2 separate regions of the Homo sapiens genome follow, and region 2 is linked to region 1. The links are contacts of gene promoters, found by promoter capture Hi-C in blood cells and fetal thymus (Javierre and others, 2016). All regions are on one chromosome and are shown on one strand. The core of a region is centred on a gene start or on the middle of the fragment in contact, and the rest is flanking DNA. Distances in the headings are between cores, read along the strand shown. Region 1 holds the start of TM9SF4 (transmembrane 9 superfamily member 4). Region 2 holds the start of LOC124904886 (a long non-coding RNA gene).

Evidence for each region. Contacts are between HindIII fragments. The CHiCAGO score rates a contact against its expected background, and 5 or more counts as called.
Region 2: a fragment that was not itself captured here is called in contact with the fragment with the promoter of TM9SF4 in region 1 in 1 of 17 cell types (M1 macrophages); the score reaches 6.0 in M1 macrophages.

What each region holds. Positions count from the first base shown.
Region 1 is chr20:32,108,065-32,114,668 of GRCh38, reverse strand. TM9SF4 (transmembrane 9 superfamily member 4) reads right to left here and starts at 4,955. Exons shown (of 18, transcript NM_014742.4): 1 at 4,914-4,955. The coding sequence starts at 4,928. RefSeq lists enhancers at 3,949-4,691, 4,855-5,034, 4,692-5,436, 4,439-5,638. The HindIII fragment of the contact is 7,759 bases long and covers 1-6,604 here.
Region 2 is chr20:32,480,975-32,488,109 of GRCh38, reverse strand. All of the region lies in intron 4 of NOL4L (nucleolar protein 4 like), which reads left to right. LOC124904886 (a long non-coding RNA gene) reads right to left here and starts at 2,080. Exons shown (of 2, transcript XR_007067564.1): 1 at 1,989-2,080; 2 at 808-1,596. RefSeq lists silencers at 4,586-4,745, 5,106-5,215. The HindIII fragment of the contact is 316 bases long and covers 2,795-3,110 here.

The sequences.
Region 1 (6,604 bases), core at 3,706-6,205:
TGATTAGCACGCTATTTCACCATTAAAAACAGTTTTTGCTGGGCACAGTGACTCACACCTGTAATCCCAGCACTTTGGGAGGTCAAGACGGGAGGATTGCTTGAGGCCAGGAGTTCAAGGCTAGCCTGGGCAACATAGCAAGACCCTGTCTCTAAGAAAAATATAATTAAAAAATTAGGTGGATGTGGTGCGTGCCTGTAGTCCCAGCTACTCAGAAGGCTAAGGCAAGATGATCGCCTGAGCCCGGGAGGTGGAGGCTGCAGTGAACTATGATCGTGCCACTGCACTCCAGCCTGGATGACAGAGTGAGACCCTGTCTCAAATAATAATAACAAACAAACAAAACCAGTTTCTGTGCCTTTGACTGGGGCTGGAGGGACTACTGGCATTGGCTCCATTAGCACAAAGGAATCTTGATGTCATTTATTCCATTCCTGTTTCTGGAGTGGCTCAAACCCAAGTAACCTCAAAACAGTGTGAACTGATGCAGGAATACACTTCCATACACCCATGGAAACTGAATGTATGTTCACACAAGAACTTACACCTGAATGTTCACAGCAGCATTATACCTAACAACCAAAAAGTGAAAACAATCCCAATATCCATCAACTGATGAGTGATAAACAAGCTGTGGTACATCCATACAAGGGAAGATTCAGCCATAAAAAGGGATGCGGCACTACTGATACATGATACAACATAAACAAACTTTGAAAACATTATGCTAAGAAGCCAGACACAAAAGATCACATATTATATAATTATCTTTGTATAAAATGTCCAGAATAGGCAAATCTATAGGGACAGAAGGTAAATTAGTAGTTGCCTAGGGCTGTGGGGAGGGAAGAGTAGGGAGTGACTCTCTTTTTGGGGTGATGAAATGTTCCGAATTACACAATGGTGATAACCATCACATTTAGTGTATGCACAACCTATAAAAACACTAAAACCCACTAAATTATATACTTTAAAGGGGTGAATTTTATGGCATATGAATTATATCCATAAAGAAGATTATAATAAAAACCAAAACAGTATGAACAATGATGTGAGGGAAGTAGAGTTTTATTCTCCAAACTGAAGTTTCTAGACTCCTGACACATCTAGAAATGTACTCAATGGACATTTCCCAAGTTTCAATGAAATAATATTCCCAAGAACCGTTTTCCATAAAGAGTGAGACATGAGCCCGCATCTCAATTCAGACCTAGCTAGATCAACACTGTATCCTGTAACTTTACAGAGTAGTCTAAATCTAAGGATGGAAGAAGACAGGAAAATCAAAGAGAACTTCAGTTTACACCAGCTATCTTCTATGGAGGGAGAAGTCTTGCCCTGCGGGTTCAGGAAACACCCTCCATACTGACATTGTTCTGGGAGCTGGCGGCTCAACCCTTGGGGAAGAAGAGCCATTCACCAAGGAAAGAGAGAAAGGGAAAAGCTCACATGCCACCGCACTTGCACCCACAACCCTAACTTTCAAAACAAAGGACAAACCAGCAACCCAGCTATTCCCACGGCCACTGGATCCACTAGTTCAGTTCCTCTTTGGCTGTATGACTCACCTCAGAGACCCATACACTCCAAAGTAGGTCTACCGCACCCCCTCGCCCCAATGGTTATGAAATGAGGGTGTGTATGAGGGTGTGGGGACTATTCTGACTTCCGTGTAATGAAGTGCTGACACAGACCAAACTCAAGCCTGTGACTCCACTTTGCCCCTTCATCACATACCCCTGTAATAAATTTGCTTCCACACCTTTTCACTATTGCACCAGATATGAAGTTTCTCCATATGCACCCTTTAAACTGGCCTCTGTGGGTCACTGCATATGTTACATACTCAGTTTCTTTAAATCAGTTACTGTTTTCAGTACAACACTCCCAGGTGGCACAACAAACACTAAATCACCGTACTTGCAGGGTTTTGTTGGTGGTGGTGTGTTTTGTTTTTTGTTTTTTTTTTTTTTTTGAGATAGGGTCTCACTCTGTCACCCAGGCTGCAGTGCAGTGACACGATCTTGGCTCACTGTAGCCTCCGCCTCCCGGGTTCAAGCGATTCTTGTGCCTCAGCCTCCCGAGTAGCTGGGATTACAGGTGTGTGCCACCACACCCTGCTAATTTTTGTATTTTTAGAAGACAGGGTTTCGCCATGTTGGCCAGGCTGGTGTTGAACTCCTGGCCTCAAGTGATTTGCCTGCTTCAGCCTCCCAAAATTCTGAGATTACAGGCATGAGCCACTGCTCCCGGCCTGTTGTTGTTTCTTAAGACAGGGTCTCGCTCTGTTGCCAAAGCTGGAGTGCAGTGCAGTGATCAGGGCTCACTGAGGTTCAAGTGATCCTCCCACCTCAGCCCCGCAAGTAGCTGGTACTACAGGTGCACACCACCAAGCCCAGCTAATTTTTTCTTTTTGTATTTTTTTTGTAGAGGGGTTTGCCATGTTGTCCAAGCTGGTCTCAAACTCCTGAGCTCAAGCGATCTCCCAGCTTTGGTCTCCCAGAGTGCTGGGATTACAGGTGTGAGTCACTGTGCTGGGCAAAAATCACTGTCCCTTCCACTGTGCTTAGACTAAAATCCAAACTCCTTTCCACAGCCTCTGTGCCAACTGAGAACAAGCTGGCTCCCTTCAAGTACTGTCCTGAAGGGGATGGGAAGGGGAAGCAGCCTAATACAACACTATTTCAAAATGCAATCCACAGACAACAAAATGTAGACCGCAGTCCTTCCCATTTCCAGGCATGCTTCTCAAAACAGTTGCTCTTGCTTCCCTCCAGTTTCATCTTGTATCATTCTCTCCTACCCCAACCCTCATCATGCTTCGGCCCCTCCAGCCTTCTGTGTGTTCCTCAAAAACACCAAGCTCCCTTCCACATCGGCCCCTTACACTTGCCATTTCCTTTGCTTGGAACATTCTTTGCATGGCTGGTTCCTTCTTGTTAATTATGTTTTAACTCAAGTCACCTCCTCTGAGAAGACTTCTTTCTGACCACTCAATCCAAAGTAGTTGTGTCACCCAGTCACCCCTAATCACTATCACTTCATTTTGCTGTCCTCACAGCATCTACTGGTGACATTATTTTGTTCACGTATTTACTTGTTCACTGCCTGTCTCCTCAAACCAGAAAGGCTCCACAAGTGTAGGGACCTTGACCCTGTAATTCACAACTACATCCCTAGTTCCTGGAACAGAATTGGTACTCAAATATTTGTTGACTAAATAGATGTGTACCACATATATGTATTGCTAGCTTATAACCTCTTAAAAATCTCTGAACAAGGCAGGGATTTCCCAGTGCAGTGCCGTAAATACCACTTTACTCAATGTTTTCCTTATAGCAAGAGAGGGTGTGATTTCCTTTTAAGTTCTTACACTATCTCTGTTCTGAATGTGGTACCAGAATATATATACATATATGTAGGTTTCAACATACTACTTTGAGGATTTGCCCCACTCGTGGTTCAGCCTGAAGTCTGAAACCACAGAAACCAGGTAAGGCCATGAAATCTTTTTACCTGACCTCTGAAGTTCTAAATAAGGAATCCCTCATTAAACAAAGGTAAGTTCTCAGTCAGCTAAGAGAAGGAGGGAAAATTGCTACCAGTCAATAATATATCCCTGTTTGGAGAAAACCAACACCAAATTATTTAAGCCAGAATCTTCCTTTGCTAAAGTCAAATGTCATTTCCTTTTCTCTGAGTCTTCCTTGTCATTCACTCCCCGGACGAAATTATCTGCTGAGGAGGCAGTATGCAGGAAGACCCAGGAAATCATTCTGGACTAAGTGACTTCAATTTTAGTTCTGGTCTCTTGACAAGCAGAATTTGAACTAAACTTTTAGAAAAAGGGCCAGTCCTTCAAAGATTTACTTCCAAGGTTCTGCACCAGGAGCCCGCAAGCTCTGACCCAACTTCCAAGCATGGCTATTTTACCTCCACCCTCATCCACACACAGACTTCATCCCAACATATAGCTTCATAATAAAGAGCCTTCATCCCTAACGAGCTGTGTGGCCATGTTGGGGAATGGGAAGGAGAGCAGTGAGGTGGGGCTATTAGTGTTTTTCAAAACGTAGTTCACAGACCACCTCCACTATATAATCACTAGAGTGCTTATAAAAGGGCAGATTCCTGGGCATCACCTAGCCCTATGGAATTAGAATCTCTGGGAGTGGGGCTGCTCAGGAAACTGCATTTTTAGCATGCCTCCCCCTACACACCTCGAGATTCTTATGCACAGTAAAGTTTGAGAACCAACAGGGTAAAAGGTCCCTAAGAGAGGGGCAGGGAGTTGACTGAGAGAAGACAGGAAGGGCAGGGAAGCCTCTAGGGATGAAAGATGGGGGTGGGGTAGGTGAAGGCAAGCTCTGGGGTAGCGGCAGTCAAGGGGGTGCGCGATGGGGACAGCTATGAGTGTAAGTGAGGACAGGGCTCTGAAAAGGATCTGAGGCAGCGCTTGGGCTGGGAGGGTGGTCAGAGGAGAGGTCACATCTGCGGACTGGTTATGATGGTGGGGAGGCGGGGAGAGCAGGGTCTGGACGTGACGGGGAGGAGCAAGGATGAGAATAACGGGAGGGGGTCTTCAGAGGGGTCAGGACAGGGAGGTGAGAAATGGAAAATGGGGCTCACAGTGGGCGGAGACCAAAAGTAGAATGGGAACCGGCGAAGGCAGCAGCCGAGGTCTTCCTCCGAAACGGCGCCTCCCCCAAAACTCGGGGCCTTCACAAGCCTGAGTGCAGGGGCAGGGCCAGGGAGGTGGATTTCGGGGAAGACAAGCCCAGTCAGAGGTAGCCCTCAGGCCTGAGTCAGGGGTCCCGGAGGTGGCTCAGGGCCAGGCATGGGGTGCTGGAAGATCCTGGGATACCCCGGAGGGCCCCGCTCCAGCTCCCGCTCCCGGAGTCTCCTTCACTCACCATCGCCGTCGCCATCTTGGATCCACGTGTCGCCGTAATGACGTCAGCGGAAGTGGTGCTCCCTGGTTACGGAGTTTAACTCCACAAGGTGGTCGTCTGGCTTCAACCGCTCCTGTAGTGGCGGTCAGCAGAGGGGAAAAGGAGTCTTAGCTCCTGCTCGACAGTCTGGTCTGGGAAAGTAAGGTCGCTGATTAGGTGAAGAGAGAGAACGGTGTAACTAAGGAAGCCATATTAGCTCCTGGCAGAAACTGAGCCTCCCTTATTCCCGCTGCATTGTGGGTAATGGGGGTGTGCGAAAGTGCGCTCGTGCTCTCAGCGCCATCTTTACTACTGGCAGGAAGACCCATTGCCAGGGTTACCTGAGACCTTGATTTGAGGGAAAGGGTGGGCACTGGGGCTCCAAGAGCAGTACGACTCCAAGAATAATTTGTAATTATATATTTAAGTATTTGTTTGATTTTAAGTATTTGTTTGACTATCCTATATCCTCTTTAGTAGACTGTAATCCCCATGAGGGTGGACCCTGTTTTTTTGTTTGTTCGTTTTTTACCTTGCTCTTCCTCATTCCCATCTGTGAAATGGGAAGGGGGTTGGTTCATCATAGGCTTGTGATGAGGATTCAGTGACACAGTATTACATAGGATGTATTCAATAAATAATTGTCAGTATATGTTTATGTATACTCCTTTGGGCTTGTGGTAGATGCCCAATACATTATTTTTTAAATGAACGAGTGAAAACCAGCATATTCAGTGGAGGGAGATATCTCTGAATGTGGACGTCATGCACTAGCTTAGTGTGTGACTCCAGACAAGTCACGCAATCTTCCTAAGCCTCAGTTTCCAAATCTGTGAAAAAGAGACTCAAAGAATCATGGTATTAAGGTTGGGAAAGAACTCAAAGTTCATTTGACCCATGTATATCACTTTAAACTGAATACAGTACCAGTGCTATCTTAGACTGTTTTAAAAAAGCTATTAAAAGAATAATAATGATTAATAATAATCATCAGCACTTGCCGAGCATTTTGTGTGCTGCAGCACTTAGCATTATGCTAACAGTTCATTAGACTCTTTTTATCTAATTCTAGGGGGCAAGGGACAGTTGAACTCTGATCCCCACCTATGGGCACCACTGTGGTGGATTTTCTGCAAAGATGGCTGCCACGTAGTTCTGTCCGTCCTTGCATGATGAGCATACGGTTTCTCTCCTCAAGAGATAGACTCTGTTTTACCTCCTGTTGAATCTGGCTGGTCATGTTGGTTGCTTTGACCAATAGGATGTGCTACAAGTGATTCTGCCAGTACTGAGCCTAGGCCTTAAGAGGATTGAAAACGTCTGATTCTACCTTCTTGGTTATAAAGAAGTGTAGCTACTCTGCTGGAAAGGCACCTGGAGAGAGAGGGAGGCCCAGCCAACTCCTCAAGACATTCTAGAAACTACAGCTAAGCACTATAATATGTAACTGAAGTCATCTTGGACATTCCAACCCCCACTGAGCTACTAGCTGAATGCAGCTACATGAATAACCTCATGAACACCATGTGGACCAAAAGAACTGCCCAGCTAAGCCCAGCTTTAGAGTGGGGTGGTTTATTATAGATCATTTCAGTAATAGATCATTGAAACACACACCCATTAACTCTTGTGACCTGCACAACCATCCTGAAGATTGGCAGATTGGCTATTAA
Region 2 (7,135 bases), core at 1,703-4,202, 380 kb before region 1:
AAAAATACAAAAATTAGCCAGGCATGGTGGCACACACCTGTAATCCCAGCTACTTGGGAGGCTGAGACACAAGAATGGCTTGAGTCAGGGAGGTGGAGGATGCAGTGAGCCCAGATCGTGCCACTGCACTCCAGCCTAGGTGACACAGCAAGATTTGGTCAAAAAAAAAAAAAAATAAAACCAACAAACAAAAACTGTGGATCACATGTAGATGAATAAACTGTTGCTTAGAGAGGTTTAGGTATGGTGCCCAAAGTCATCCATCTAGTGTCAGAGCCAGAATTTGAACTAGTTCCATCTGATGATACTCTTTCCATTAGACCTCCTCACTGGCCTCCCTGTCATCACTTCTGCTCCTTTATAATCTCATCTCCCCTGATCTAAAAACGTAACTCAGATTGCATCCTCTCCTCACTCCCAGTGTAAAGCCCACACACCTCACGGGGGATGTTCAGGATGTTGCATGCTTGGCCCTGTTTGCCCCCCCGATGCTCATCCCTCCTGCCCTCCCCCTGGCCCACATTGCTCTAGCACTCTGGTCACCTTTCCTTTCATCAGCAGTTTTGCACCAACTATTCCCTCTGCCTGGAAGACAGTGCCCCCAGGTCTTCACCCAGCTGTCAACTTCTGCCCTCTGGGGATTAGGACACCCAGTGGCTTCCTCCTGGGAGAGCTCTTCCCTGACCACTCAGCCCAGAGCCCACCCTGGCCCCCACCCTCATTCCACCCCCATCCTCTGCCTCTCCCCCACCCCTTGTCCACACCTCATTCCATCTCTACAGGATCTAAGAAGAGTCACACATTAAGTTTAGTTGTTATTTCTCTCTCTTTAATTTTTTTTGAGATGGAGTTTCGCTCCTGTCGCCCAGGCTGGAGTGCAACGGTATGATCTCGGCTCACTGCAACCTCTGCTTCCTGGGTTCAAGCAATTCTCCTACCCCAGCCTCCCGAGTAGCTGGGATTACAGGTGTGTGCCACCACGCCCGTCCAATTTTGTGTTTTTAGTAGAGACTGGGTTTCACCATGTTGGCCAGGCTGGTCTCGAACCCCTGACCTCAGGTGATCCACCCGCCTCGGCCTCCCAAAGTGCTGGGATTACAGGTGTGAGCCACTGCACCCGGCTGTTATTTCTCTTTCATCTTATCGTTTAGAAAGTCAATTAGTGACAATGAATGTTTTGTAGAGTCCAAGACTGTTGTGTTGTGGAGTTTCTCTTTCTGGATTTCTTGTCTGGTTGTCTCTTGAGGAGCAGATTCAGGTGAAGCATGTTGGGGGAGCACATGGCTCAAGTGATGCTGTGTCTTCCAGTGCCTCCCTTCAGGAGCCGAGGACATCATGTCTGGTGGCCCCACTTTGGAGGCTGCTGAATTTGATGACTTGATTGGGAAGTGTCTGCCAGATCGCCCCATTGCAGGTACATTTTCTTCTCTGTCATTAATAAGTCATTTGTGGGGATAATTTTTTTTTTTAATGTTTTGACGTGCTTGAACAGTGTCTGCTCTGGTCACGCTAAGATCCTATTTGTCCTAATAATGGCAAACCAGAGTCCCATGGCCAGGTCCCCACTTGTGGGACATGCTTACTTCATATGGGAAGCTGCATGAAAGAAAGGGGTTTGCTGCTTAAAAAGCCCCATCAGAGCATACCCTAATCATCTGTTTACAAAAGCACCCAATGTCTTCAGAGGCTGGAGGGGACCTGTGGCAGCATTGTCCCCCCGAAGCAGATGGGATCAGCTTTCTCTGCCATGGTCTCCTACCAGGCTGGGGCCAGAAGAAGGGACACATCACTGGGAGAATTAGTGGTCAAGAAACTAGGTCACCCGATTCCTCATTGGGACTCATGCTGTGGCCACTTTAAGGAGTGGGGGAGTGGCACAAGGACACTGAAAACAACCTATACAAGGTTACTCCAGGAGTGGCAGCTCCTGTAGGAATAAGGATCTGGGAGATTTCTGAGGGCTTCAGCACACACACATGAAAACTCACCTCATTTGCAGTGCCGCTCAACAGCCAGGTTTCTGCAGGGCTCTCAACTGTTTTCTGTGGGTTGAGCAGGGCTGGGCTGTTTTATCTCAGGGATAGTAAATGAGTTCACGTTTCATGCCTACAGAAAATCACTGCTCTGCCCTCCTGGGCGGTACTAGCTCTCTTTTATTAGTCAGAGAAGAGGTGGGTTATCTGGGTTCAATTCCACCTTTGAACTTCAGTTGTATTTGGCTTTATATTTCAAGCTCAGATGTCCACCACTGCTGTGAAATAGTAATTCAGGCCAGGAGAAGTCAAAGGTCTCTGAAAATGTGGTGGGGAAAGGGAAATCCTGAGTCTGAATTATCTCATTTTCAGAGTGAGGATGGACAGTTCCCGCGTTTGGAAACACATTTCCTGGATGAACTTAAGAGCTGTGGCCACTAGTTCGTTCTAAAAATCATTATTGGGCACCAGCATGTGTGGATAAATAAAGCCTCCCACCTGCCCCACATCACCAAGGATGAGAAGATCCAGTAAACTGGGGAGAGTGAATTGGTTTGAAAACACATTTGATTTCAGGAATAAAAGGTGCAAATGAGTAAATGTGCCTAAACCCTCTTTTAAAAAGAAAGTGTGAGTTTTCTATTGACAGCAGAGTCTTGAGCATGTGCGGAAGGAAGCCTGCGTGGCGCTAATGTGATGTCTTGTCATCATTTTATTTTTCTGACGGGTAAACGCTGGGCTCTGAACCTGTGGGGTTGTACTTCGCACTCGCGGCTGTAGAGGGAGCCTTGTTTACCATGGATTGTTCACAATGCAAAGCTTTCAGAGGAAGAAAGAAAAAAGGCTTTTTACAGAAAAAAAGTTGGAGGGTTAAAGGCAGTCTGTTTCAAAATTGCAAACAATCGCTGTGGCTGTCTCGTTTTCTCTTCTCTGCTGGTTCCACCGTGAATGAATGGTAGCGTAAAGAGTCAGTAGAAATTGCCCTTCCTCTTCGGATGCGACCAGAGGAATCAGGAGGTGGGATCCTTATCAGGGTTTTTTTTTAGTTGTTTTTTTTTTTTTTTTTTTTTTTTTTTTTGGCAATTTCCCCACAGAATTCCACGAGGGCAGTTCCCCATCCTTGTTGAAGCACAAGCTTTTTTCGAGGCTGATCTGTGGTAGCGGAGGGTCTGGATTTGGAGGGGTGGGGTGGGAATGGATCCCCTGACCCATTTTCTCCATCGGGGTCTAATTCTGCGGTTTGGTGATGAGAGTGTTGCTTTTCGGGCCGAGTCCGAGGTTGCTCGGAGGTCCAGGGCTCCCACCCCGCGATGCCAGTCCTGCCTCCTCCTGCGCCCCGGGCAAGGGTCTGTCCGCCTGGGGGACCGCATCTGGAATCCGCGTGGCTCCCCTCCCCGGCGGTGCCGTCTCCACGGACAGTGCGTGCCCGGGTCTGGGCTGGAGCGACGTCCCCGAGATTATCCTATTACTTTACAACTGTGGCTCGCGCGCCGTCAGGACCCGGCCCGGTGTGGGCTGGCGGAGCACAATGACCGGCGGCGGGGCGGGGGCGGGCACGCGGGCGGCGGGCGCTGGGGGTCGCGTAGATGTTTGGGTCGAACAGGTGAGCGCCTCCCGGACACTCGGGTGCCCGCGGGGGGCGGGGAGGAGGGCGGAGGGGGTGTAAACTAAGTGGTGGGAAAGAGACAAAGGAAGAGTGAAGAGCGAGACGGTGCGGATGGGGAAGGGGGAGGGGCGCGGAGGGGCAGCCGGTGGGCAGCGCGCCGAGGAGCTCGAGCTTGAACTTGATCAAGCACTGGGGGCCCTGCCGTGGGGGTGGGGCGGGGGTACGGCCGAGAGCCGGCCACGTGCCTGGCTTTCCCAGCCCGGGGTCTCGCTCCGGCCGCCCGGGGGAGCCGAACCCCGAGGCCCGGCAGCCCCGCCCCACAAGTACCCGCGTCCCTGGGGACCCGAAAGACGCATGGGGGTCGAAGGCTGCCCGAAGGGGCCCCGGGCGCCGAGAGTTCCTGAGGGTGCCTGAGTCACTTTATTTGGGCCAAGTCTCCCTCTCCTGGCCTGACCGCAGACAGCCCGCCGGGTGCCCTCTCCCCCCAGCCCCCACCGGACCCAGAGACCGCAGCCTCCGGGAGCGATGGGTAGGCACAGATCCCAGCGCCTTCTTTCCGGGCTCAGCCCCGTGCAAGGATCTTCCTCGAAGCGCTTCCCCCTTAAGAGCGCGCTCCCCACCGAAGCGCACGGCGGCGCGTCCAGCGCGCCCTTATCCCCCCCTACCTGGCCCAGCTCCCCCTCCTTCCTCCTCTTCTCCCCCCGCGCCTCTCTCCCTCCTTTCTCCTCTCCCCTCTCCCTGGGTGCCTCCTTTTCCTCTCTCCCCTTCCCCCCGTGCCCACTCCTCCCTCTCACCCGCCCCTCCGCCACCTCCTCCTGCTGCTCCTCCTACTCCCCCTGCCTGCGCCCTCCCTGCGCTCCCCTCCCCCCCGCCCCCGCCCCGTGCCCGGTCCCGCCCCCTCTCCCGCCTCCCCGTGCCCGGTGCCCCCTCCCCCTTCCTCCGGGCCGCGGCGCCGCCGCCGCTGCCGCCGCTGCTCGCCTGGGCCCTCCTCCTGGCCACCCCCGCCCCCGGGCCGGGCAGTGACGCGCCGCGGTGGTGCCAGCCCCTCTCCCCGGGCAGCCGCGGCGGCAGCAGCAGCAGCAGCAGCTGGAGCTGTGGGGCTGTCACCGCCGCCCGCCCCGCTCACTCGCGGATCCCGACCGCCCATCTCCGCCTCGCTTCCAGCCCAGGTACGGAGTCCGGCCCGGATCCCGGCGATCGGGCCGTTTCCGGGGCCCGGGCCGCCGCCCCCCTTCTCCGGCTGCTGCCGCCGGCCGTTGAGCTGCGGTTAGGGGGGCGAGGGGCTGGGGGCGGTTCTGGGGAGGGGGGCGCAGGGGGAGCTTCCTTTGCCGGGGCTGAGGGAGGGGGCGCGGGGGAGCGGCTGCGCCCTGGGCCGAGTGGGCTGGGGCGGGGGGCGGGTGAGTGTGCCCGAGAGTGGAGGGGGGGCGATGAAGGCTGCACTGTGGGGGCCGCGGGGCGCCCAAGAGGTGTGTCTGGCCCTGAGCGCCCAGGGTCGCGGGGCGCACCCCACTCCCGGGGTGCGCGCCGCGGGTCCTGGGGGGCGGTGATTGTGCGCGCAGCGCCGCGGTATTGTGCCACGGCCGCTCGGTGTGCAGCGGGCTCGGCACCGCGTCCCGGCGAGGGAGGCGTTCTCTGGCGGCGGGGCGGGGGCCGGGCTCGGGTTGCCGCGGCCGCCACGAGAAGGGAAGTGGACTGTGTTTGGGGATGTGAGGACGGGAAGCGTTGAGTGTCAGGGAGGGGTTCCCCGGCGCGGCGCGGGGAGTTGAGACGCGGTTTGCAGAGTTGAGCCCACTTCAGCAGGCCCGGGTCCCTCCCGGGAGGGGACGGGGTGTCCCTCTCAGGTGCACCGTCTGACCGGAAGCCGCGGGCGTTGGCGGCCCCTGGCGAAGGGGCCTTCCTTAATGAGGGGACACGGCGGGGCGGGGGCAGCCGGCCGCCTCGAGGGCGCGCGCAGGGGTTAAGTTGGATTTACACCTCCGCCCTCTCTCTCCTCCCTCCACCTTGTCTTCAAGGCTGGACACTTTGGATAGGGAGGAGGGGGGAGTGCAATCCGCATTTTTATTCCAGCCGCTCGGGAGCAGAAGTGACCCTGCTCCCACCCGGAGCTGCGTTTGCCCGAGTCCGGCCGCCCCTACCGGGCTGCGCTTCCTGGGGGAAGTTCTCATTAAGCCTCGCTAATTAGCATTATTCCTGTAGAAAGGTTAAGGTTAGACCGTCCTTTTCCTTATGGGAGGCCCACCCCCTCCTCCCCATTCCCTACTCCCTCCCCTCTCCCCAAGAGCACAAAAGCACAAAAAGAAAGTGTGAAGAGGCTCAGATCAATGGAGAAGCCACAAACCCATTAATTCAAATGGAACCTTTTTTCCCCCTCTAAAACATTGATTTTCCTTTCTGTCTGCTCTGAGGGGAGATGAATAACCTCCTGATTTCACCTGAAATGGTGTTTGGACTCTGTGATTTCCTCCTCTTTCTGAGAAGGATTGTGGCTTGAAATAGATTCTCCCTTGAGATAAAGCCCTACTTATCCCAGAATCAGCTGGCAACCCCAGCCTGCTCCCCCCCCCCCGCCCCGCCCCACCAACTCACACACACCAAAGGGGGTGTGGGGAGAGGTGTTTGGGGGACCTCATGGCTCTTCTGGGGAGAGCCATCTGTGTGATGGGACCAGGCCCCTGTCTTGACCCCTGACACAGGCCGGATTCTGGACTGAGTTGGTCTGGGGAAAAGGCCCGTTTATGGCCCAGGCCCTGTGGTAGTTTAGCCCCCCGGGTAGTAAATTACCCCTTCATTGGAAAGCCATTAGGGCCTAAATGTGTCCTTGAATAATATCAAGCTCCTGTCTAATCCAGGCTCAGGCTGGGCTTGCTTTATAGAGCAGGGTTTTAAGACAGCACCTCTTGAGCTGGGCGACACCACCCTATTCAGCACCTTCCTGCCGCACAGTGGGAACAGAGCTCACTGCGGCCTTCCTCCCAGCTGAGAAGACGGCCTTCCTCCCAGCTGAGAAGACGCCTTTGGGGAACTTTTCCTGCGGCCCCTACCCTGGGGCTCTGTGGAGCTGGACCGCCTGGGAATTGCTCAAGAACTTTTTCTGTGTTGTCTGGGTTCCTTTCTTGGAAGGACAGCCCTGCAGGGGATTAGCTCACAGCGGCTCCCTTCCAGCCTTCCTTTTGGCTGGAAGATCCCTGTCTGCTGAAGCTCCTCTCTCCAGCTTCACTTTTAAAGAAACCCCCATTAATGGCAGGGTCTGAGGGTACCAGCGAGGCCCTCGTGGTGAGGAATGCTGATGGGGAGCAGCCAGGTGCCTTTGCTTAGGAACAAAAGCCTGTTTTCCACTTGATATACAGTGGGAAGGTGTGGGAAATGCTCACTTCCAGCATCCAGGTGTCTATGACAGCAGGGACAACAGAGGACCACATGTAGATGGGAATACGCTTCTGACAGACACAGTGTGCGTGTGAGTGAGTGTGAGGGAGAGAGAGCGAGAATGCCTCCAGTGTGGTAGGTGATTGGCTGTGTCTCAGCCCTTCCTGCCTCATATTTCCCAGAAGAGCTG